Regions from separate parts of the Homo sapiens genome. Here regions 1 and 3 are each linked to region 2. The links are contacts of gene promoters, found by promoter capture Hi-C in blood cells and fetal thymus (Javierre and others, 2016). All regions are on one chromosome and are shown on one strand. The core of a region is centred on a gene start or on the middle of the fragment in contact, and the rest is flanking DNA. Distances in the headings are between cores, read along the strand shown. Region 1 overlaps TOPAZ1 (testis and ovary specific TOPAZ 1). Region 2 holds the start of ZNF35 (zinc finger protein 35). Region 3 overlaps TCAIM (T cell activation inhibitor, mitochondrial).

Region 1 (3,132 bases), core at 43-2,542, 330 kb after region 2:
CTATTACTACTTTGTTTCATTACCAACTAATTGTATATTAAGAGATTGCTAGATAGCAGCCATTGGGCCAGGAATACCAAGGTAAAGAAAATAGTACCATCCTGATTGAGCTCACTTTGTATAAGGAGAAACAGATAAGAATGCTCATTACAATACAGGAGCACAGTGGAATTAAGTGGAAAAATGAAAATTTATAGATAGTACGATGAAAGTACTGAGGGGAGGCCCTCAGGTTAACGTTTTCGTCATCCTCTGAACCTATCACATAGCTCATTCTTGACCCAAAGCTTTTGCTCATGGACACCCAACATTCAAGAGTACTGACTACCATTTCCCACATTGGCGTTTGAACTTGGCATCTGTTTCACTTCCTCCATTTCTTTCAAGTTTACCTGTGTTCCTAGGTAATGTAAACTAAGTTCTGTATTTATTCAGTGATAAGAGAAAAAGCTTGCTCAGGGCATTTAAACATATTGTTTGCTGATGACTTGACAGAAGTAGGGAAAAGGGAATGATAAAAATGCTTGTCTTAGGAACTGCTGACAAACAACCCAAAGATAAGCATCTCAGATTTTTTTAAACCATCAGGAAAGTATATTCAATTTGCAGAGAACATATTTTACAGAAAACTACTTCATTAAAAAATATGCTGGAATATAAAACTCAATCAAAACAGGTGGATAACTATTTCTTATTAACAGTTAAACACCAGATGGGCAAGAGATAATTAAGATAGACTTTTAAAAAACATACCTTGGGAATTTTGAAAACCTGGTAGATTCTGCAAAACTTCAAATGTCTGTCTATAAAGGCTCTTGGCTAAGATTTCATGTGCAATTGTACAGAGTAAATTATGTCGATTAAGCACATCCAGTCTATCACAAGGCCACAGAGGCGTATTGATTATCCACTCTGACTCTTCCAAAAAGAAAAAAATATGAATAGTTTATACCATGAAAATGACACTTAACAGTATAATCACAACTAATGTTTCAATATATCTTTTGAAGAAACAGGCAAAACTTAAACATATGTACTCAGAGAAGATAACCATGGCTCAAATTTATTAGAAATAACTTATATAGTGATGATCATCATCTGAAGAAGATGCAAACAAATGGCCACTTTGTTATATTTATTTTTAATTAATTCTTCATCTAAGTGTACTAGTCAATTACTAATTTTAAATGTTTATTTTTATATAAAAAAGTTCAGATTATCACAAATATTTGCTTTAACATAAAATATTATTTATGTGGACAAGTTTAACAATTTCACAATAAATAATTTAATTAGTTTTTGGTATTACTGGGGAATAGCTTTTCTTTTCTTTTCTTTTTTTGAGATGGAGTCTCACTCTGTCACCCAGGCTGGAGTGCAGTGCAGTGGCGCAATCTTGGCTCACTGCAACCTCCGCCTCCCGGGTTCAAGTGATTCTCCTGCCTCAGCCTCCTGAGTAGCTGGGACTACAGGCGCGTGCCACCACACCTGGCTAAATTTTTTGTATGTTAAGTAGAGACGGAGTTTCGCTGTGTCAGCCAGGACAGTCTCGATCTCTTGACCTTGTGATTGGCCCACCTTGGCCTCCCAAAGTGCTGGGATTACAGGCATGAGCCACTGCGCCCGACCAGCGAATAGCTTTTCTTAACACTTTCTATTTTAAAAACAATTTCTATTATGAAATCGTTGTTGTATACAGAAGAATAATATATGTTATAAAAGCATAATAATAAAATTAACTCCTGTGTACCCATCACACCCACCTACGACCCTCAAACCAACAGACCTCAGACCCTCTTTAAAAAAAGAGAATATTACCTATAATGCTGAAGTTCCTTAATTTCTGCTCTGATTTTCACATTGAGAAAAACAATGGGAGACTGTAGTACAGAACACTGAGGTACTAAAATGTTAGAAATGTCAATATTTTATCATTTACCTAATTTACTCAATCATTATACACATAGTGAAACATTACTATATGTAACATTCAAATCATATTTTGGTGCTCTTTTTCAACTGAACTAAATGTAGAAGTAATCCTTTTATTTTGTGGCCTTCCTAGCACAGTGAATATAAAAAGTATTGAAGAAAAAGTTGATAATTCAAATATATCATGACAAAAGAAAGCTTTTAGTATCCAGTATAAAGCTTTAAAAAGGAGCTTTTCAATTACTAGAGCCCATGTGATTGACTGATTGACCTAACAGAGTTATACTATGTGTTAGGAATGTTCTAAGTGCTTTAAGAATATTAACTCATTTAGACAGATACTTTCATTAATTTGCTTCTACATTTGCTGACATTTTAATATAGAGAGAAATGTAAATGAATTTAATATCTTCAAAGACTGTATGATCATCTGTTAAACATAATTCCCATTAAAAGTAAAACTGTTCGTTCACCATTCCTTATAAAGTGAATTTTACTTTGATTGAATAAGTTCAATTATTTTTTATCTGTTAGATATATCCCATGTACAAAAAGTAGATTATATAAACCTTTTCTCATAAAAATTGCATCATTTTTCTTTAATACTTATTCTTTATATTTAAGGTAGGGTAATGGTCACATTTTTTGGAAAGTATATATGGTATTTTAGGAGATTCATTTAAAATTTTTATCAAACTGTTTAGGTATATAAAAAAATCTGACCTAGCATGCTCTCTCCCCACATCATCTCCCTGTCTGGGTTTTTGTTTTTTTCTGTGTTGCCATCTTTTTTAAAAACCTGTTCAGTGTTGCCAATCAACCAACGGTCTGTGAGGGGCAGCATGGGATCAGGCAGCAGGGTTCTTCCCCGCCTTGCCTTGGTTCCTTTGCAGGATTGAGCCACCTGGCCGTGGGGGAAGGGGTCAAGCTATATCCCAATACGTGTAGGGTAATGGTCCCTGGTGGCACATCCAGGTTGTGGGCCGAGCTGTGCTGGGGAGAACAGACCTGGGCATGGAGGGGAACTGCTCCCCAAAGGTTTCCGGTTGCCTCTCCTCTTCCTACTTTTGTCAGCCGATCAGTTTGTGGTTTCTGTGCCCGCAAAGGCTTCAGGAAGCATTAACAAAAGAAAACTATATATATATATTTTTATATATAAAGGTATACATTTAATATAATTATATAAAATATATATTATAT
Region 2 (3,006 bases), core at 206-2,705:
ATAACCTATGGTGTTGATAAATCTTCACTCTCATTGAAAAAGGATCAAGTAATACAGAAATATATAGAATTAAATATATAACCTACACACACTACACACACACACACACACACACACAAAGTACTTATCAGTTTAGATGGGAGTCCTAACCCATTTTCTCTGCATTTACATACTTATATGTTCACCTTCACACATATTGCTTATTTTTCAAAAACATACTTTAGATCATCACAGTTATATACTGTTCAGCAACCTGCATTGTTTTTTAACTCAATTTCCGTATTTCACAATAGTCTTAACAATCTTTCAATACAACACATATAGAACTACCTCATTCTGGCATAGTATTCTAAATTGTGGCTATATTATCATTTACTTAATCATATTCTATTTATGAACCATTTATTTAGTAAAAGTTTATATTTCCATTTTATTAATATTTAAAAGTTTTTCTTTGTAAATATTTTTTTTTTGCTGAATTATTCCTTTAGAATAATCAGAGAATTACTGGTTCAAGGATTTGCTGGTTGATATGTACTGTCAAATTGCTTTCCAAAAGCACCATGCCAATTCACACCCCCACTAATTGACAGTAACCCTTTATCACAGCTAAGCCAGCAGGGTTTTTGTTTTTAACCTGTGAGCAAAATAACCTTACTAGTTTGATTGCTTATGAAGAGATTGAAATTTTTCTTTCTAACCCCCTTTGAATGTTTTATTGGAAAAGGGTGCGAAATCTTATTCAATCCCCTGTTGCTGCTATTGAAGTGATCATACTCTTTTCCCCATGTCAACTTACTGGCCACTTACTGTATACACTGAATTTATTAAGTAATGCAATACTTTCATTCCTGTGACAAACCTTAATTCTGGAGGACTATTCTTTCCATCACTATCCGAATTCAATCTGGTATGAAGGTCCTTAAGACTAGTTCCACCTTGTGTATAAGACTGCCTACAGTGAGTACTCTCATCAGACTTCTGATCAGATTCTGACGGACCTCCGGTCCCAGACGGCACAGGGCCCTCTATCAAAGGCTCCCTTTCAACGTCCTTTCTCTATTTCCAAACGTGGCAATCCATTCTTTCCACGTATAGGCTCCTCGCGGCCCTGTCCCTGGGACCTATCTGGCCCCTTGGCCGGTCCGTGTGCATCCTCTCCCGGACCAGGCCCCAGGTGGGCAGCAGCCGGGATTCCGAGGCGGTGGGGAACTCACTGCCCCCCGCACCCCGACAGACAAGGCTGGTGTCCCCGGGGAAAGGACGCAGGGGCCGCTCCTAGGGCCATGGCCCCTGGGAGAGCCCCTTTTTCTCCCTCGACGTTCGTGCCCACCCCCTCCGACCCCACTCACTGTGCGCAGCTGAGAAGCCCGACCTGAGTTCACTGGCTCTGCAGCAGGAGGCTGGCTGACCGGTACTTCAGCTTCTACCGGCACGAGAACAATGACCGGACAGGAAGTGCCTCGGGATGGGCTTCCGGCTCCCCAAGTCGCCAAGCCGGCCTCTCTAGGAACCTCGGAGGTGCTTTCCTCTCGATGGGTGTCCAATGTCGCCCCAGACCAGGGATGGGGCAGAAGCGCTTAGGAGGATTGTGCTGTTGGAAGCTCTAAGTGAGCCTCAGGGAGGGGCGCATCCCAAGCAGGGATGAGACACTCAGGCGAGGCGCGCACCCAAGAGCCTGAAGCTACACAGCATTAATCTGTAGAAAGCCCTGATAATTTCCCCTCAAATGTTTTATTTTGAAAATATCAGAGTACAGAAGAGTTGAAAGTATGGCACATTGAATACCCGTATTTTCCATGTGGACTCAACAATGAACATTTTGCTATGTTTGCCTGATCTCTCAATACATATTTAAAATCATTTTTTTGAAAGTTGTAAACATCAGAACACTTCATTCCAAATACTTCAACATGCATCCCTTAAGATTAAGAATATTCTTCAAACTACCACCACCGTCACAGGTAAGAAAATCAACAAAAATTCCCTAATACCATCTAATAACCAGTCATATTCAAATTTCCCAACTGTCCTAAAACATGTATTTTATAACTTTTTTTCAAATCAGTTTCACACACTTTAGTTGGTTACAGCTCTTTAGTTTTGGGTTTTCGTTGCCATTGTTGGTTTTTACTTTTTATTTTGAAATGATAGAATCACAGGAAGTTGCAAAGATAGCACCCTTCACCCACTTTCCCCTCATGGTTACATCTTACATAAAATGAAAAAGGAAATCAACATTGGTACAGTATGTGTGTATAGGTATAGCACCTATAGATTTGTGTAACCACCACTGCAATCAAGATACACAAGTGTTCCATCACCACAAAGACCTTTCTGGTGCTACCTTTTAATAGTTCCATCCAACCCTCTCCCCATTTTTCCTCCCACCATCCCTAACCTTTGGCAACCATTAATCCATTTTTCATCTCTATAGTTTTATCATTTTGAGAATGTTATATGAATATTTTCATACAGAATATGGCCTTTTGTGATTATTTTCACTCAGCATTAATTCCCTTGAAATTTATTTGAGTTGTTATGGATATCAATAAGTCAATTTTATTGCAGAGTAACAAGTATTCCATGGTAATACATAAACCACAATTTGTTTTAACCACCTAAGGAAGGATATATGGGTTGCCTACAGGTTTCGACCATTACAAATAAAGCTGCTATGAACATTCGTATACAGGTTTTTGTGTGAACGCAAGTTTTCATTTCTCTGGGATAAATGCTCAGAAGTGCAATTCCTGAAGCATGACATATACATGTGTGGTTTTACAAGAAACTGCCAAATTATATTCCAGAGTGGCTGTACCATTTTACATTCCCAGCAATGTATGAGATCCTGTTTCTCTTCATCCTTGCCAGCAGTTACCACCATTAAAAAAAAAAAGTTAAGCTATTCTGATAGGTGATATCTCACGATTTTACTCTGCATTTCCCTCATGCCTAATGATGTTGAACATCTTTTCATTTGCTTATTTGCTATCTATACTTCAG
Region 3 (3,056 bases), core at 241-2,740, 310 kb after region 2:
TTAAGGAAAAAAAATCTCCTGGTATTTCTTTCTTTTGGTTTAAGAAGCAGATGTTTAGTGGGTTCAAGTCTGGCTACATTTTCCACTTCATCAAACCATCTGGCAATGTGCTAGGATAAACGAAAAAGCTAGAGATTTCCAAGTCTTTTAAAAAAAAATTTGATTGATAAATAAAGCTACTCCTAGATTAGAATGTTAATCTTGATGAAACTGGTCTAAACTAGATTTAATTTTACTACCATGTTTATTAGGGTTAGGGTTTTTGTTAGGGCTCTTATAAAATTTTGTTCAGTTTTGAGTGGTGTGTGCTTTTTCTCCACAAACTGTTACTTTTGCTTATTGTTTGGCAGCATGTCAGGATTTCCAGGAATGCAAGAATGGCATTACAGCAGAAACATGTGGATATATATAAACATTCTGTCCCCACTCCAAACTGCCTTTTAATTCTGAATCTTAAGTTTTCATTAACTGAGAGAATACTTTGAGCTAACACAATGCTAATCTGCTAGACAGGAGTACAATTTAGTAAATGAAATTAGTGAATATTTTATTGAATTTTGTCTTTATTTTATAAAAAAGAAAAATTACAATTCTAATACTAGTAATAAAGAATACGAAATGAAATACAAATGAGAAAACGTTATCTATATTGATATTTGGTCTGTATCTGATGCTCACTGAAGTTATCTGGACAGCACATTTAAGATAAAATGGTGGAAAGACACAGACAAAATGCTAGAAATATTCAATAAGACTTTTCTAAAAGGTGAAATCTAATTTAGAACCTAATAATGATGTTTAAGCACTGTGGATGTGGAATCCCACATCTGACTTTGTGTATGTGTTTTCAGGGGTACATCACTTATGAAAGTAGGGGCTATCTTTTTCATAGAACTTTTGTGAAGCTTAAGTAGAATATGCATAAGGGATTTAGCCACATTTAGTAAATAAAAAATTCATTACAGTTGCAACTATTATTATGTCAGAGTGTATTAAAAAATGGCATAATTTTTTTCCATCTAATGTCAGATAACATATTGCTCAAACATGCAGTTCAATACAACATTTTATTCAAAAACAAATTTTGAAAAACTTTGTTGAAAAACTCAGAATTATCACAATAAGGAGTCAATGTCTGAAGGTCTTAAACACAAGGTAGTAGGCAATTTTGCCAAGGCTACATACAATTCAAAAAGTACAGATGAATAATTTCACAAATTTTTCTCTAGAAAAATACTTTTAATTCATCAGAATTAAAAAATAGCTAGTTGTTTACTTTTACCATTTGAAGACAAAGGTGGCACTTGCTAACCAATAAAAACACAAGTTTTGATGGAAGTAGCATTTCTCTCTTCAAAATAAAAACCTAAAGTGAATATAATAAAGTTATATTGTGCTGTGGGAATTGTCTTTTTATGAATTAATACTGACTTTTTAAAGACAGTGTTCTGGGTCATGGAGAAACAATGAGAGAGCAATAGGGGAGAAATGAGAGGGAATGTGACTTTTCCTTTTTCCAATAATTCTCCTCTCTCCCACAATGGCAGCCAATTCATATTTCTAGAGGAAAATGCCTATATATATAAAAATATATTCAGTTAATAATTCTGCTATCCATTCAACAAAATTATTGCTCTAAGATGATCACTTCCTATACAAATCATTGGAAAAAATTAAAAATATATTTTCTCGTTCTGTTTAAGAATAAGAATGAAAAACCGAGTACTATGAGTCTTTTGAGTATTTCCTGTAAGCTCTTCAAGAATGGGCTCTGACGACTAAGTGACAGATGAGGATCCAGTTTTGGAAAAGAAGAAAGGGACAGGGTAGGAAGGAGAGAAAGAAATAACTCTTAGGGCAGTGGTTTTCAAAGCAGCAACAGCATCCGTGAGAAATGCAAATTATCAGGTCCCATCCGAGTCCTGCAGAATCAGAATCTGGGTGGGATGGAGGAATCTGTTTTAACACACTGTCAGGGATTCTGATGCACACTCAGGTTTGAGAACCACTGTATTAGGGAATCCTGATTCTATCACCAAAGAGGATTCTGGGGCATCTGTTAATGTTTAAGCTTTAATTCTTTAAAAATAATTATTTAATACAAACTTGGATCTTTAGCTACCCAATTTATGCTAAAAATCAAAGGAGGATTTCAAGTTTTTGCTTGAATTAGTTCTTTGTTTCCTGTATGGTTTATGTACTTTTCAGATTAAAAAAACCAAAATTCTAAGTAGAGACAATGTCCAGCAGGTTGGCAGGCATGGCTGCCTGCCGCTTCACAACGCCCAGATCTTGGGTTAGTCTTCAACCTTGTAAGAACAGAACCCAATTTTATCACTTCAAGACAGAAATACGTGGGCCTTGGGGAAGCTAAATTAGAAGGCCTGATAACTGGAATGTCAATCTGTAAATTTACTTTGAGATTATAACTGCTAAGACAACTAGAAGATTCAGATCTAATGTTCTTCCTCTTTCAGGACTAGCTACACAGAAAATCAAATTACTATCAGCTGACTGAAGACACATTGCTTCAGAGTAGAGTTGGGTGCTCTCATTCAGACACTAGCTCCAAAAGTCTGGGACATCCACATCAACCGCAGGCTTCTCGTCTTCAGATAAATTCTTACATAGGTGGTTCCTGTCCATACTGCACTTAGCCCACTATACTTCCACTTGGAAAATGCTATAAAATAACTGAAGAGGTTGCACTGTCTTATCACACTTGGGAGGCATACCGAGTCTTTAACTCACCCATTCATCACCACTTATGGGCCAGGTCCTGCGTAAAGCATTGGGACTAGAAAATTATTAAGACAATTCTAATACTCAAAAGACTTTTAGAGGGAGGGGGGAGTGTAAAAACAGACACAAGCAGATAAGTATAAAACAACGCAGTAAATGCAATAATACAAACATGCACAGAATATGAGAAACTCCCAGACGCAACACTTGGAATGGGGCGGGGAGAGCTCAGGAAGGTCTTCTCTAAGGAAATGGTGCCTTTCCTGGAAGAGGGCAGAGGACCGGGAAGGATAAAATTTATTTACAAACCATTG

Evidence for each region. Contacts are between HindIII fragments. The CHiCAGO score rates a contact against its expected background, and 5 or more counts as called.
Region 1: a fragment that was not itself captured here is called in contact with the fragment with the promoter of ZNF35 in region 2 in 3 of 17 cell types (megakaryocytes, monocytes and naive B cells); the score reaches 6.8 in megakaryocytes.
Region 3: a fragment that was not itself captured here is called in contact with the fragment with the promoter of ZNF35 in region 2 in 1 of 17 cell types (monocytes); the score reaches 5.2 in monocytes.

Annotation. Positions count from the first base shown.
Region 1 is chr3:44,318,813-44,321,944 of GRCh38, reverse strand. It overlaps TOPAZ1 (testis and ovary specific TOPAZ 1), which reads right to left. Exons shown (of 20, transcript NM_001145030.2): 17 at 754-918. Among named protein-coding and RNA genes, the nearest start is that of TCAIM, 18 kb to the left of the region's middle. The HindIII fragment of the contact is 1,680 bases long and covers 453-2,132 here.
Region 2 is chr3:44,647,181-44,650,186 of GRCh38, reverse strand. ZNF35 (zinc finger protein 35) reads right to left here and starts at 1,455. Exons shown (of 4, transcript NM_003420.4): 1 at 1,353-1,455. ZNF660-ZNF197 (ZNF660-ZNF197 readthrough) reads right to left here. Exons shown (of 8, transcript NR_147692.2): 8 at 1,716-3,006. ZNF197 (zinc finger protein 197) reads right to left here. Exons shown (of 6, transcript NM_006991.5): 6 at 1,716-3,006. All of the region lies in intron 2 of ZKSCAN7-AS1 (ZKSCAN7 ZNF cluster antisense RNA 1), which reads left to right. RefSeq lists enhancers at 973-1,082, 1,163-1,332, 1,211-1,770. The HindIII fragment of the contact is 4,515 bases long and covers 1-3,006 here.
Region 3 is chr3:44,339,636-44,342,691 of GRCh38, reverse strand. The region is part of intron 1 of TCAIM (T cell activation inhibitor, mitochondrial); the gene reads right to left. Among named protein-coding and RNA genes, the nearest start is that of TCAIM, 2.4 kb to the right of the region's middle. The HindIII fragment of the contact is 1,166 bases long and covers 908-2,073 here.